2 separate regions of the Homo sapiens genome follow, and region 1 is linked to region 2. Evidence: promoter capture Hi-C in human tissues and cell types (Jung and others, 2019). All regions are on one chromosome and are shown on one strand. Each heading gives the region's core, a stretch centred on a gene start or on the middle of the fragment in contact. The rest is flanking DNA. Distances are from core to core; before and after follow the strand shown.

Region 1 (7,076 bases), core at 2,677-5,176, 42 kb before region 2:
TTTTTTTACCAGTTTGTCTTGACCCAAGGTAGGAACTAAAAAGGACTTTATTCAGTCTCATTATCTTTCTACCAAGCATAAACTTAAGAACCCCTTAGTAAATATGATAGCAAGGCATACAAACTGCAGGGCCTTGGCAGCACTGAGGTTTATCTACAAACTATAATGTGGTGTTGGAAGAATGTAATCTAGTTAATCATATCTTTAAAGTTTATTCTCCCTCAGGGCTTGAATTGTGATGGAGGGAGGAAGCAGAGAGAGCAGGAATGGAAGGGACTGAGTTCATCACCACTATGGCAATTGCTCTTTGTGAAGACCTAAGTCTGTTTTTAGTGGGCCCAAATCATCTAAAGCAAGCTTGTCTATCCTGACACCCACAGGCTGCATGTGGTCCAGGATAGCTTTGAATGTGGACCAACACAAATTTGTAAACTTTCTTAAAACATTAAGACTTTTTTGCTTTTTTTGTTTAAGTTCATCAGCTATCATTAGTATTAGTGTTAGTGTATGTTATATGTAGCCCAAGACAATTCTTCTTCCAATGTGGCTCAGGGAAGCCAAAAGATTGGACACCCCTGATAAGTTCTCAATATGGTGAAGTTCTCAGTATACCTGAATTTTGCATGGTCATGTAAAGTTACATTCATTTTGATTTTGTAGCAGAACGGACAGAAATTTTATTATATTTTTCATATCTCACATCTGTCCCTTTGAATCTGAAGTGAATCTGCAAGACTTTGGGGTTCTTCATAGCTTGGCTTTAAAACAAAAACAAATCAAGTACTAGATGGGCTGGTCTTTAGCTTTTCTGGGAAAGGGACAATTGGGGTGGTTCTAGGCAATCTATTATTTGCAGGCATGCATATATTATGGCTCTCAAACCTGAGTACAAGATGGCATAAGAGAGGTGTCGTTAGGTATTGACACCTCAAGTATTCAACAAATATTTATAGAGGGCTTGTTATTAACCAAGCACTGTACTGGATGTTGAGAATACAAGAATGAGTAAAGGACCGCCTCCATCCTCCATGGTGTTCAGAGGGCCATCTTTCCCTACAAGAGGCAGTTATAACAAAGCAGGTAAGCCGTCTGAAGAAATGCAGAGCACTCAGGAGAAGAAATATATCCACACTTCGGTGGTCAAAGGATTCTTGGAGGAAGCTAAAAGAAAGCTAAAACCAAATATGTGGGTAATATGTAAATAGATATTAAACATGTAAAGGTAGGTTAAGCCTGAGTTAAGATGAGGTTCAAAGGGGAAGGTAAGAGAGAGCATTACTAAAAACCAAATAAAGTGAAACGAGCCAGCTTGTTGTGAAGGTTCATAAGCTAGAAGAAGGCATGCTGCAGAAGCTGAAAAAACTCCAATCTGACCTCTATGTATGTGAGGCTAGAGGTGAAAAGGCTGAGCGGCAAGGAGAGGGGACCAGATCGTGAATGGTCTTCTAATCCAAATTAAGGAATTTAGACTTTACCCCAAGAAAACTGAGAAACCATTAGGCTGGTGATCATGTATTTGCATTTAGAAAGATTACTTGAACCTCTACATCCCTCACACCTGGCCAGGCACGGTGGCTCATGCCTGTAACCCCAGGACTTTTCAGGCTGAGGCAGGAGGATTGTTTGAGACTAGGAGTTTGAGATCAGCCTGGGGAACACAGCAAGACCCAGTCTCTACAAAAAATTTAAAAATTAGCCAGGTGTCGTGGCACATGCCTGTAGTCCCAGCTATTTGGGAGACTGAGCGGGGAAGGTCAATAGGTCAACTGAGTCTATGAATTCGAGGTTACAGTGAGCCTGATGGCACCACTGCATTCTAAACAACAGAGCAAGACACTGTCATTCATTCATTCATTCATACACACATACATAAAGTATTAAAAAAAAAAAACAAATCCCCCACACCTCACCTTTATGTGTAAGGTCTGATGAGTGATGTTGTCAACTCTGAGGTAGCTGGATGAGTGCTGCCACTTCGAGGTCAGGGATATGAAGGTATTTTACCAGTTATGAGAGACTAAATAAATGACAATATTATTACACTGCTCCTCAACGTAAGTAATGTATACTTCTCTCATACTGTTTCTCACATACCCCACCTCCATTACTTCATCATCCAAGCAAACAGTTTCTGAGGAAAAAGAACAGGAAAGTGGGCATATAGTAGTATCAAAGCACCCCCTGCCTTGTATCCCTAGAGATATGAAAAGCTCCCTGAAAGGTAGGCAGGTATTTGTAAACGTTTTTATTAGTGAGTCAATTATTTAATAGGGATATTAACATATATTGTTGGAAAAGTGTTCTCAGGTGTGATAAGGAAGTATTTTGTTTTCTATATGTTTATGATTAATAAACATATTTTAACAGCTGAACCTTTAAGACAACTGAAATCCAAGCCATAGTGTATACAGGGTGCCTACGGCTCTGCTGAAGGGAATGCTAGTTAACCCATGACCTGGAGTAATTCAATTTATGAAGAATTCTCTTGGTTTTAATACTATATTACTAAACTCAAATATTGGCTAATGAGGTTATTTGAAGAAAAAATAAAGTGTTTCAGAAATGGAAATGTTTAATATGATTCCCTGTGTGCAGTTTGCCATCTAGTGTTAATTTGTGGAAATAAAAAAGGCAGGTATAATAATTTCCAAGCAGGCTCATCAGGTGGCAAAGGCATGGCTCACAGCAACATTTCCTTGTAAAGGTATCAAGTCATACCCTAAGACCCTCTGAGGTTTGTTGAGGTGGGTGAGTAGGTGAGTTGGCTACTTCTAAGAAATCAGTTATTCTTGGAAAACAAAATAATTCTCAATCCTGGCTGCCTGATATTGTTACCTGAAAACTTAAAAAAATATACAGATGGCCAGGCGACCCTCCAAACCTGGTCAGTCAGATCCACTCAGGAGGGACCCCAGCAGTGGACGGTCTGTACCCTCCCCAGGTGGTTCCCATGTGCAGCTTGAGGGGGAGGATCCCTGGGCAGGGGGGTTAAGATTGCACACCCTCGCTGTGTCACTGCAGGAGTGTCACCACTTACCTGTGTCACCTTAGCAGGGAAATTGGGCTAATTAAATATGTGCTTTGGTACAATGAAAATAACTTCTCCTGGTGTTATTGTGAGGTTTAATTATCATCATGAATATTTAGTGCTTAACACAACACATGGTACAGTGCACTCAACAAATGCTAAATATCATAAATAACATTATCAAGGAAAATATTTTAAGAGCTATTTAGAGGAAGAAACTACCTAAGAAATGAACATATTACATATGACATATTAGAAATTAGAACATATTACCTATGAAATATTTCCATTCTTCTTAAACAGGTAGCCTTGTGGAATTGAATGCTGACACCCAGCTCAATCTGAAGGATGCCTCCTGAGACACATGTTACTTCTTATCCAGTGCTGACCTAAAGTGATTTCCAATTATTTCCAATCTGTCTTTGGGTTCAAAATTTCCAATACCCTAGCAAATTTCACTTGTCTTGTTGAGTCAGATATCCTCTTCTGAAGTAAACAGAGAACAGAGTCACACCAACTACAGACATGGTGACAGTAAGCACAGCCATTTGTTGGGAGCAATTCCCAGAGAAAGGAGAATCACTGTGACTTTATCTTCACACTCATAAAAAAAATTAACCTATTATTACTGTAAGCTGTTCTGGGCAGAAGGAATATCACCTGAAAAAGTTCAGAGGAGGCCAGTGAAGAGCTATTGGTCCAGTCTGGCAGGAGTATTCAGTGGGAATGTTAGGTGGGGTCAAATGATAAAAAAAAACTTGGCTATGAAAAATTGGATGTGAGGACTGGGGAAAGAGAAACATCAAATATATCAAATGCTAAACTTGAAAGGGCAGAGAAAAATGAAAACAGTTGAGTAGCAGAAAATTCTGAGCAAAAATTCATTTGTTTTATTTGAGACATATTGAAATCAAGTAGAGGATGGTCAGAAGGGGGCATCCAGGAAGGAGCAGGGCAGAGCAGAGGCAGTGGCAGGGAAGGGGTGAAATTCAGAAAGAAAATATGGGCTGTAGGTCAAGATTGAGTCAATAGAATGGATATGATGATTGAAGTCATGGGGCATGCATGAGTTTCCCTACAGTGACTTGATAGAAGAGAAACCACCAGCCCAGCCCGGTAGCGCAGGCTTGTAATCCAGCACTTGAGAGGCCAAGGGGGGAGGATCCTTGAGCCCAGGAATTTGAGATTCAGCCTGGGCAACACAGCAACACCCCATGTCTAAAAAGAAAAAAATTTGTTTAAATTAGCCGAGCATGGTGGCACCTGCCTGTAGGTCCAGCTACTCAGGAGGCTGAGGTGGGAGGATTGCTGGAACCCAGGAATTCAAGGTTGCAGTGAGCCATGATCAAGCCACTGCACCCCAGCCTGGGCAAGAGTGAGACTCCACCTCAAAAAAAAAAAAAAAAAAGAAAAAGAAAATCCATCTGTTACTGGTAGACTTTTGCATTGTTTACCGTTTAGGGCTCATATAACAGAATGCTACTACGAACATAGCTGTATGTGCCTTTTGGTGATATATGTGTGCATGTATGCTGAATAGGTGCAGAGGAATGAAGCTGCTGGATCCTATGACAAACAGATGATTAGCTTTAGTAGATACCACCAGAGTTTCCTAAAGTAGTTATACCAATGTACATCCCCGGCAATAGCATATGATGTTGGGGGGTTATTTAGTTTATGTGTTCACTGGATTTATTATTTGCTTTAGCCATTCTGATGTATGTAGTGGTATAAGATTGTTTTAATTTGCATTTTTGGGATGACAAATAACATTGAACACTTTTATTTTTTATTGTTTGAATATATAATTTTGTGGAGTATGTAGTAAAATTATTTGCCTATTTTGTAATTGGATCTTTTTTTTTTGCTACATAGGAGTTATTTATAGCCTCATTATAATTTCTCAGATAGATGTATTGCAAACTCTGTGGGTTGCCCTTCTCTCTTAACGGTGTATTTTGATGCAAACCTATTAATGCAGCCCAATTTGTCAGTCTTTCTTTAGGGTCAGTGCTTTTTTGTATCCTGTTTTTTGTACCCTGTCTTTGCCTACCAAGGACAGGAAGATATGCTATCTTCTAGAAGCTTTCTTTCACCTTTTATTTTTAGGTCTAGGATCATCTGGAATTGATTTGTGTGCATGGCATGATGGGACCAATATTCTATGTTCTCCTTTAATATGGATATCCAACTGCTTCCATACCACTTATTGAAAAGACGATCATTTCCTTACTACATTGCAATGACATCATTTTCATCAACTAGATAGTTCTATACATTTGGGTTTATTTCTGGACGCTCTGTCCCACTGGTCTATTTGTCTAGCCTTGTGCTAATATCACTGTTTTAATTACAGAGCTCTACAAGTCTTGGTATCTAGTGGTCTAGTCTTCTAACATTGCTCTTCTGCTTTAAAATGGTTTTAGCTATTTTGGGCTCTCTATATTTCATATACATTTCAGTCCTCCCTCTTTACTCCCTCCCCCAAGCATTACTGAGATTTTCTTAAATCTGCAGATAAATTTGGGAAGGATTGCCATCTGGGCAATATTGAGTGTCCCAAACCATAAACATAGTATATTATGCCATCTACTATGATCTTTTATATTTTTCACAGCAATATTTTGGCTTTGTAGTTTTTCCTGTGTGGAGTTTTTACATGTTTGTCAGAACAATTTCTAGGTATCTGATGGCTTTAAAAAACATTACTGTAAATGCTATCTTCACCAAATTCTATCTTAAGTATTGCTAGCTTATACAAATGCAGTTAATTTCTGTACACTGACCTTATCTCTAGTGACATCACTAAAGACACTAATTCTAATGGTTTGTCTGCAGATTCTTTTGGATTTTCTAAGTGGACAATCACATAGACTATGAAATATTTTTATTTCTAACAGTCAATCCCTCTATTTCCCTAATTTCCAGCTAAGGTTATAGATTTCCCTATTAGCAGTACTTTTACCAGTATCTCATACATTTTAGTACATTTATAAAACAAAGGACCATTAGATAGTTGAGGATGCCAAAAAATGAAAGAGAACAAATAAAAAATACAACCAAAGAACAAAAAGCAACTAAAAATTGAGGAACTTGAAAGGGACAATGCAGGACCTAGAATATGTTTTAAAATATATAAAAGAATATCATAGAAAGATAACATATTTAGTCAATGAAATCAGAACACAGTGATTTTTTAAAAGTTAATAGGTTGGAAGATAAAGATATGGAAATCTCCTAGAAACTAAAGCAAAGAGATTTTTTTTTTGTTTTTTTGTTTTTTTTTGAGATGGAGTTTCACTCTTATTGACGAGGCTGGAGTACAGTGGCTCGATCTCGGCTCACTACAACCTCCACCTCCCAAGTTCAAGCGATTCTCCTGCCTCAGCCTCCCGAGTAGCTGGGATTACAGGCGCCCGCCACCACGCCCAGCTAATTTTTGTATTTTTAGTAGAGACGAGGTTTCGCCATGTTAGCCAGGCTGGTCTTGAACTCCTGACCTCAGGTGATCCACCTGCCTCGGCCTCCCAAAGTGCTGGGATTACAGGCGTGAGCCACTGTGCCCAGCTGCAAAAAGATGTTAAACAGAGGAAATAAGTTGATAAATATAGAGGATTCAACAACTGAATAACAGAAATTCTAGAAAGAGAAGAAAGAGACTAAGGAAGGGGGGAAGTTACCACAGAAACAAAACCCTTAAGACTGGAGGAATTTCCAGCACAAAAAGACACGAAAAATTAACACAAAGAATGAAAAAGACGTAAGTCAATGATCATCACAGGGAAATCAGAAAACTCTAGATAAGAGAAAATCCTAAAATCTTCAACAGAAAAGAGTACACACTGATGGAGTGACCGTCACAACAGTGTCTCATCAGCAATGCTGAAAGCTCTGAGAGTGAAGCAATGCTTTAAAAATTCCGAGGGAAACACTGCTGCAACCTAGAGTTCTAGACCTAGGCAAACTATGAATGCAGCAAGCAGGAATAGACATCTGCTGATACCAGAGATCACAAAATTTTACCTCCCAAGTACCTTTCACAGGAAGC
Region 2 (6,703 bases), core at 1,843-4,342:
AGCTTCATTTGTTAAATGAGAAAACTGGACTATAAGAAGATCAAAGAATTTGCCATAAGGCTAGGAAATAGGGAAAGCAGGATTATTTAGAGTGATATTTCCTATTCTCGATCCCACACTTTCTTGCACAAGATCGTAGACTTGCCCTAGATAATAAAAATTTTCACTGAAGATTAAAAGGAGGTTTTTGAAAAGCACACTATTTATTTGGACACTAGTCTGTGCTTCAACACATTATTTGAATAAGCACACAGAAGATACTGTGTTAGATGTGATAGGGAATATCAAAATGAATAAACATAGTTATTATGCTCAAAGACTTAGAGCAAAATAGGAAAATTAAAACAGGACACAAATAGTCATAAAACAAGCCAGGTTAGCTGGAATGAACAATACTCATAACATACTAAGTCATTCTGTTTGGGTAAAAGACTATGTGTAACGAGGTGAGAGAGGAGATATAATGAAACTGGGAAACTGGCTGGGCGTGGTGGCTCAAGCCTGTAATCCTAGCACTCTGGGAGGCTGAGGCACATGAATCACAAGGTCAGGAGTTCAAGACCAACCTGGCCAAGATGGTGAAACCCCGTTTCTACTAAAAACACAAAAATTAGCTGGGAGTGGTGGCAGGCGCCTGTAATCCCAGCTACTGGTGAGGCTGAGGCAGGAGAATCACTTGAACCTGGGAGGCGGAGGTTGCAGTGAGCCGAGATCACACCACTGCACTCCAGACTGTGTGACAAAGTGAGACTCCTTCTCAAAAAAAAAAAAAAAATAATAATAATAAATAAAACTGGGAAGCTAGGTTAAGGTCAGACAGTAGAGTATAATAAATGCCTCATTAAGAAATACAAATTCATTTAAAAAGCAAAAAGTCTTCATTGCTGGGAAATTATATGGTCAATGTTAGATTTTAGGAAAATTAATCTGACAGTGAGTAGAGGGTGGAGAGACAGGCCAGAAGCCAATTTAGAAAGGTTTAGGGAAGAAGCAATATAGTGCAGAAAAAAGTGATAGCACTGAGAATTGAGAAGAGCACTGGCAATTGAATTACAGGCTGTTTCTGTAGGAAATACATTCACTATAAAGAAAGAAAGAAAGAAGACAGAAGAGAGATGAGGTTGAAGAGCTGACCCTGTGTTGTGGGGTAAACAGTAATGCCTTTGGTGGGTTAACATGGAAGACAGGAGAAAGCTTAGCTCTGAGGGCAGAGATGCCACATTTACTTTAAAACATACTTATTTTGATGTGCTAATGAAATTTACAAATTCATTCACCGAGTGAGAATTTGTCAAATGTCTGCTATCTGGGTGTTCCTTCTTTTAATACTTAGGATATATCATAATCACTAAATAAGTTTTCTATTGCTCTGTCTCATTTAGGAGACCACTGAAAGTATCATATTGACATCATAGCCTATAAAACATTCTCAAACCAACACAGTTGCAAAGTTGTCTCCTTCCTCTGAACTTCTGTATTATCATCTCCACCACTCATTGAGTACTTAGCATATACGAATGTGTGTGTGTGTGTGTGTGTGTGTGTGTATATATATATATGTATTCTCTACCCCCCAATGTCAGATTTTTAATTACATTATAAGTGGCTTAAGAGCAGGTATCATTATAGTTATTCTTTTACTCTCCCACAGTGCCCTACCCAGAGTAGGAATTCAGTAATGCTTTAATTGTTAGATTAGGAAATTTCTTTTCCTTTTATCTTGTAAGAAAAAGATACATCTTTTCTTAGCCTTGTAAACTAGAATGATCAGTAACATTTCACATCCAGAACACATGGCTACTGTAAAAGGAGCCACAGAAGCTAAATTGGCCTTGGACTGTGGAAAAGACAGCTGAATAACGGCAAGAGCTAAGAAACTATTTAACATCCCACTTTCAATAGCAACAGTTTTACAAACAGGAAGAGGCAGCGTACAAACTTTAGCAAAGGAGTACCCAAACAGCAAACCCAAAGCAGGAACTAAGAGACCCAACAGAATCACCTCTAGATTATCTGTTTTTAAGAACACTAATCCCACTGTGAAAGTCAAATAAATTCCTACGAACATTAAAATAAAACTCAGAGGTCTAATTATTCTCTCTAAGAAGCTTGCTTTTTCAGGTATTCTATGCTTGATGACTATTCCAATTGATACTGGCACAAGTATGAAAAGGAGTGTTGACACAATTTTAGAAACAGGAATATGGAATGTACCTGACAACCCTAATATCCTACTGTATATATAAGAATTGACAGGCATCATGATCAGAGCCAATAATGTTGATGTGCAAGTCATCAAAATGGCCAATGTGAAATCTCCATCTAGAAGCAGAGCAAAGAGATAGCCCCCACCCCCTCCTGGGCACGTGCAGGTCATTACAACTCCAAAAGCTTGCGCCTCAGGCAATGCCACAATCTGAGACAAAAGAAACCCGCAAAATGGCATCAGAAAAAACTGTGTAACTGCCCCAAGAATTACTGGCAAAGGTCTCTTCCATACTGTTTGAAACAGCTGTAATTCAATCTTACAACCAAATGCACACTTATTCAATAGTATTAGTGGTAAAATAAGCATTAGGATATTTCTATCAATATGCATTGGTGCCTGGAGTAGACTGTCTTTTTGTTTGAGCACTTTGACTTTCACATTCTTGATTTCTTCAATGAGTCTTTCTTGCCTACCTTCAGAATCCCAGAGTTGAATAGTCACATTTGTTTCTCCTTCTTCATCAGTCACCAGATTTATGGTAAAGTTTGTAGCATCTGATGAGATCTTCTTGGCCACATTCACCATTTGTAGTATTTTAGGATCTTCTATTTTCACAAAGAGGTGGCTGGAATTAGGCCGTTTATTTTCGTAGCTTGAACTTACAAGGATGGTTTCTTCAGTCTTTGTGAAAAATAGTATTTCAGTCTTCTCTATATTCAGAAAACTGAGCGATGACATCCTTGCTTCTTCTATAGTCACAAGCAACAAAAGTAGAACAATAAAAAGTTTTCTAATCATTTTGAAAGCTGAAATAAATCATATATGCAAAATCGTTTTTAAAAAATGAAAGAACATTCTTCATGCAGGTGTTCCAGTGACAGTCTGAGGGTGAGTTAGATAACAGTTGTTTTTGTAGGATCAAAGTCCAGTAGGAGGGACTGCTGTACTTTTAAACAAATATATAGCCATCTAAGCAGCAACACAACCGGTTTAACTTGTGATTAAGACAATTAAAAAGTCATGGCATTTAACAGATTCGATTTATCACAACAGAAATCTAATCTCTTCCTCTTGATTTCCTCATTTCTGCTTATGCGAAAAAAAAAAGCCTCCTATTTACTTGAATTTAAAGCTTAGTGTCATCATTCGTTAGTTATTTCTTGCTAAAAAAAAAAAAATTAAAAGCAGTCAGGATCAAGAAATCTGTAACAGACACTGAGGAAACCTAGAGTTCAGTGTTACCATTTTGTTCAATCAAGTCGAAGTCAAATCAATATTCACTGAATGTCTCTTTGCCTAGGGCATGGAATTGGGAGCTGGCCATCCCATAATGATTAAGCCAGATGCAGTCGCTGCTCTCCTGGAGCTTAGTGGGGTGACCCAATATCACAAGTTAGAAAACTGCAGAGCCCAGACACTGGCCTTGGCAGCATCCCTTGGCTGCTAATAGTTTTCCTGCATCTCTGAAGGATGATTTAATCTGTCAAGCAAAAACTGACACTGTTTTTTGTATACCTAAGTAGGAAAAAAAATTCCTGAATGGTTACCAGATAACTTGGGGACATAGGGAAAGTAGGTAGCTGGTGCCACGGCCAAAGGTACAGGCTGGTTAAGGGACCACAGCTACTGGACACTTGGACCCTGACACGATGGGGCAATGGAAAGACACTGGCATTGATTCTAATCTTTTATTCCTTGTTTGTAACACTACTCTCTGTTCACAGTTAGGGGCAAGGGCATTCAATTGACCCAATTTGGTCATATCCCTTGGTTGCCAGGAATGAGAAAAAGCATCAGGCTTTTTGGATTTCAACCCATAGACTCACACACTTGTATATTTCCCACACAAGGGGTGGGTGTCCTGATGCTAAGCAGCAAACCAACCAGCCGACCAACCAACCAACCAAACGTTTACTATTAAGCCTACAGATGTAGTAGTCTCTGAACACATGACCATTTCAGCAGCTCTTTCATGTAATCATGATGCAATGTGTTCAAGGTAATGCCAATTTGTATTAAGTATTTTAGATCATTTGTTCCTCAAAAATGTGAAACCTTTTTGTCATTTTAACGAGTTTTATAAAAGTATACCATTTATGTCGGTTAATCTTTCAAATGCAGTAGACCTTAGGTCTCATAAATTTTATTAATATGTACCACATTAAGAAAAACAAGATCCGCTGTACCAATGGTGAGGATAGGGAATGGGACTGTTCATTGATATTTCAGTTAAAATTTCCCTATTTTAACTGACAAAAACAAAACAAAAAACAAAAATGTCATAAAACCTAAGTTATCTTTAGTTATGTGACCAAATATCTTGACTCATAACTTTTGTTGCCTAGGTCGAAGATGTGAGTATATCAGTTTTTCTTTCCCCTTAGGACTCTTTCTGCAACCCTTTTAGTTCTTCGGTTTCTCCAGGCCCTTTCATTTGAAAACCGTGAAGAACAAAGCCTGACAAATCTAGGAAAACTTTGATAATCTATCATTCATCTATATAAGTGTTCTTCTAAATTTTCATGGAAAATATGTATTATAAAAAAGTGTGTATGAATTTCAATTTTTTTTTTGCACCAGAATAAACTTTTTGTAACATGTCTGAACAGGATCTAGTGAGGGACACTAACTATGATAAGACATTTAGAAAAGAGCTCTTTTATCAGAGAAACATAAATTCTGCTAAAATTGAAGGAAGAACACACATCAAATTTATGGTGAGGTTTGGGTGGAAGAATGGTGAAATCATTGATGCTTCACATAAAGGTTATGGAGACAATACCCCAAGGAGATCTGCAGTTTACAAATGGATAACTCATTTTAAGAGATGAGACAATGTTGAAGATGAAGCCCGTAGCAGCAGACCATTCACAGCAATTTGTGAAGAAAAAAAGCACAGACAATATCTAATATGGTTTGGCTGTGTGTCCCCACCCAAATCTCATGCAGAAGTGTAATGACAGGAAGTGTTGGAGGAGGGACATGGAGGGAGATGATTGGATCATGTGCATGGCTTCTGATGGTTTAGCACCATCGCCCTAGTGCTGTCCCATGATAGAGTTCTCACAAGATCTGGTTGTTTGAAAGTGTGTAGCACCTCCCTCTTCACTTGCTGTCTCCTGCTGGCCATGTGAAGATGTGCTTTCTTCCCCTTCTCCCATGATTTTAAGTTTCCTGAGCCTCCCAGCCATGCTTCCTGTAGAGCCTGTGGAACTGAGTCAAGCTTCTTTTCTTTATACAGTACGCACTCTCAGGTAATTCTTTTTTGGGAGGACAGAGTTTCACTCTTGTCACCCAGACTGGAATGCAGTGGTGCTCTCTCGGTTCACTGCAAGCTCCGCCTCCCAGGTTCAAGTGATTCTCCTGCCTCAGCCTTGTGAGTAGCAGGGATTACAGGTGTTTGTCATCATGCCCAGCAAATTTTTGTATTTTTAGTAGATATGGGGTTTCACCATGTTGGCCAGGTTTGTCTCGAACTCCTGATCTCAGGTGATCCACCTGTCTTGGCCTCCCAAAGTGCTGGGATTACAGGTGTGAGCCACCACGCCCGACCTCATGTAGTTCTTTATAGCAGTGTGAGAATGGACTAATACAATATCCAACATCATAGATGTCTCAGTTGGTTCAGCTTACACAATGCTGACAGAAAAATTAAACTTGAGCAAACTTTCCACTTGATGGGTACCGAAACTATTGCACCCAGATCAGCTACAGACAAGAGTACTTTTGTTCTCCTGGTGGGTTTTCTACTTAAAATTTCAGTTGTCTTTCAATAAAAATTTTAAACAAGTGGGATCAAGATCCTGAAGGATTTCTTCCAAGAATTGTAACAGGAGATGAAACATGGCTTTACCAGAATAATCCCGAAAACAAAGCACAAACAGAGCAATAGCTACCAAGAGGTGGAAGTGGTCCAGTCAAAATAAAAGTGGACTAGTCAAAAGCAAGGTCATGGCAACTATTTTTTGGGATGCTCAAAGCATTTTTCTTGTTGACTTTCTGGAGAGCCAAAGAACAATAACGTCTGCTTATTATAAAGGTGTTATGAGGCTGGGTACAGTGGCTTATGCCTGTAGTCTCAGCACTTTTGGTGGCCAAGGCAGGAGGATCCATTGAGGCCAGGAGTTCAAGACCAGTCTGGGCAACATAGCAAGACCTATCTCTACAAAAAGAAAAAAAAAATATGAGAATGTTTAGAGACAGCCAAAGTTTTAGCAGAAAAATGCCCAGGTAAGCTTCACCAGAGATTGCTTCTCCACTAAGACAATGCTCCTGCTCATTCCTCTCATAAAACAAGGAAAATTTTGAATTTTGATGGTAAATCATTAGGCATCTACCTTAGGAGGTCTAATTTTGCTTCTTCTGACTTCCTGTTTCCTAATCTTTAAAAAAAAAAAAAAACTTTAAAGGGCACCCATTTTTCTTTAGTTAAGAAACAGACTGCATTAACATGATTAAATATCCAGGACCATCAGTTATTTTGCAATGGACTAA

What was found. Contacts are between HindIII fragments. The study calls those that stand out against the background at their distance.
Region 1: a contact is called between a fragment that was not itself captured here and the fragment with the promoter of SLC10A5 in region 2, in 1 of the 25 tissues and cell types used here (aorta).

Annotation. Positions count from the first base shown.
Region 1 is chr8:81,648,911-81,655,986 of GRCh38, forward strand. No RefSeq gene overlaps it. Among named protein-coding and RNA genes, the nearest start is that of IMPA1, 34 kb to the right of the region's middle. The HindIII fragment of the contact is 7,970 bases long and covers 1-7,076 here.
Region 2 is chr8:81,691,966-81,698,668 of GRCh38, forward strand. SLC10A5 (solute carrier family 10 member 5) reads right to left here and starts at 3,093. Exons shown (of 1, transcript NM_001010893.3): 1 at 1,666-3,093. The coding sequence starts at 3,007. The coding sequence ends at 1,691. The HindIII fragment of the contact is 3,072 bases long and covers 2,867-5,938 here.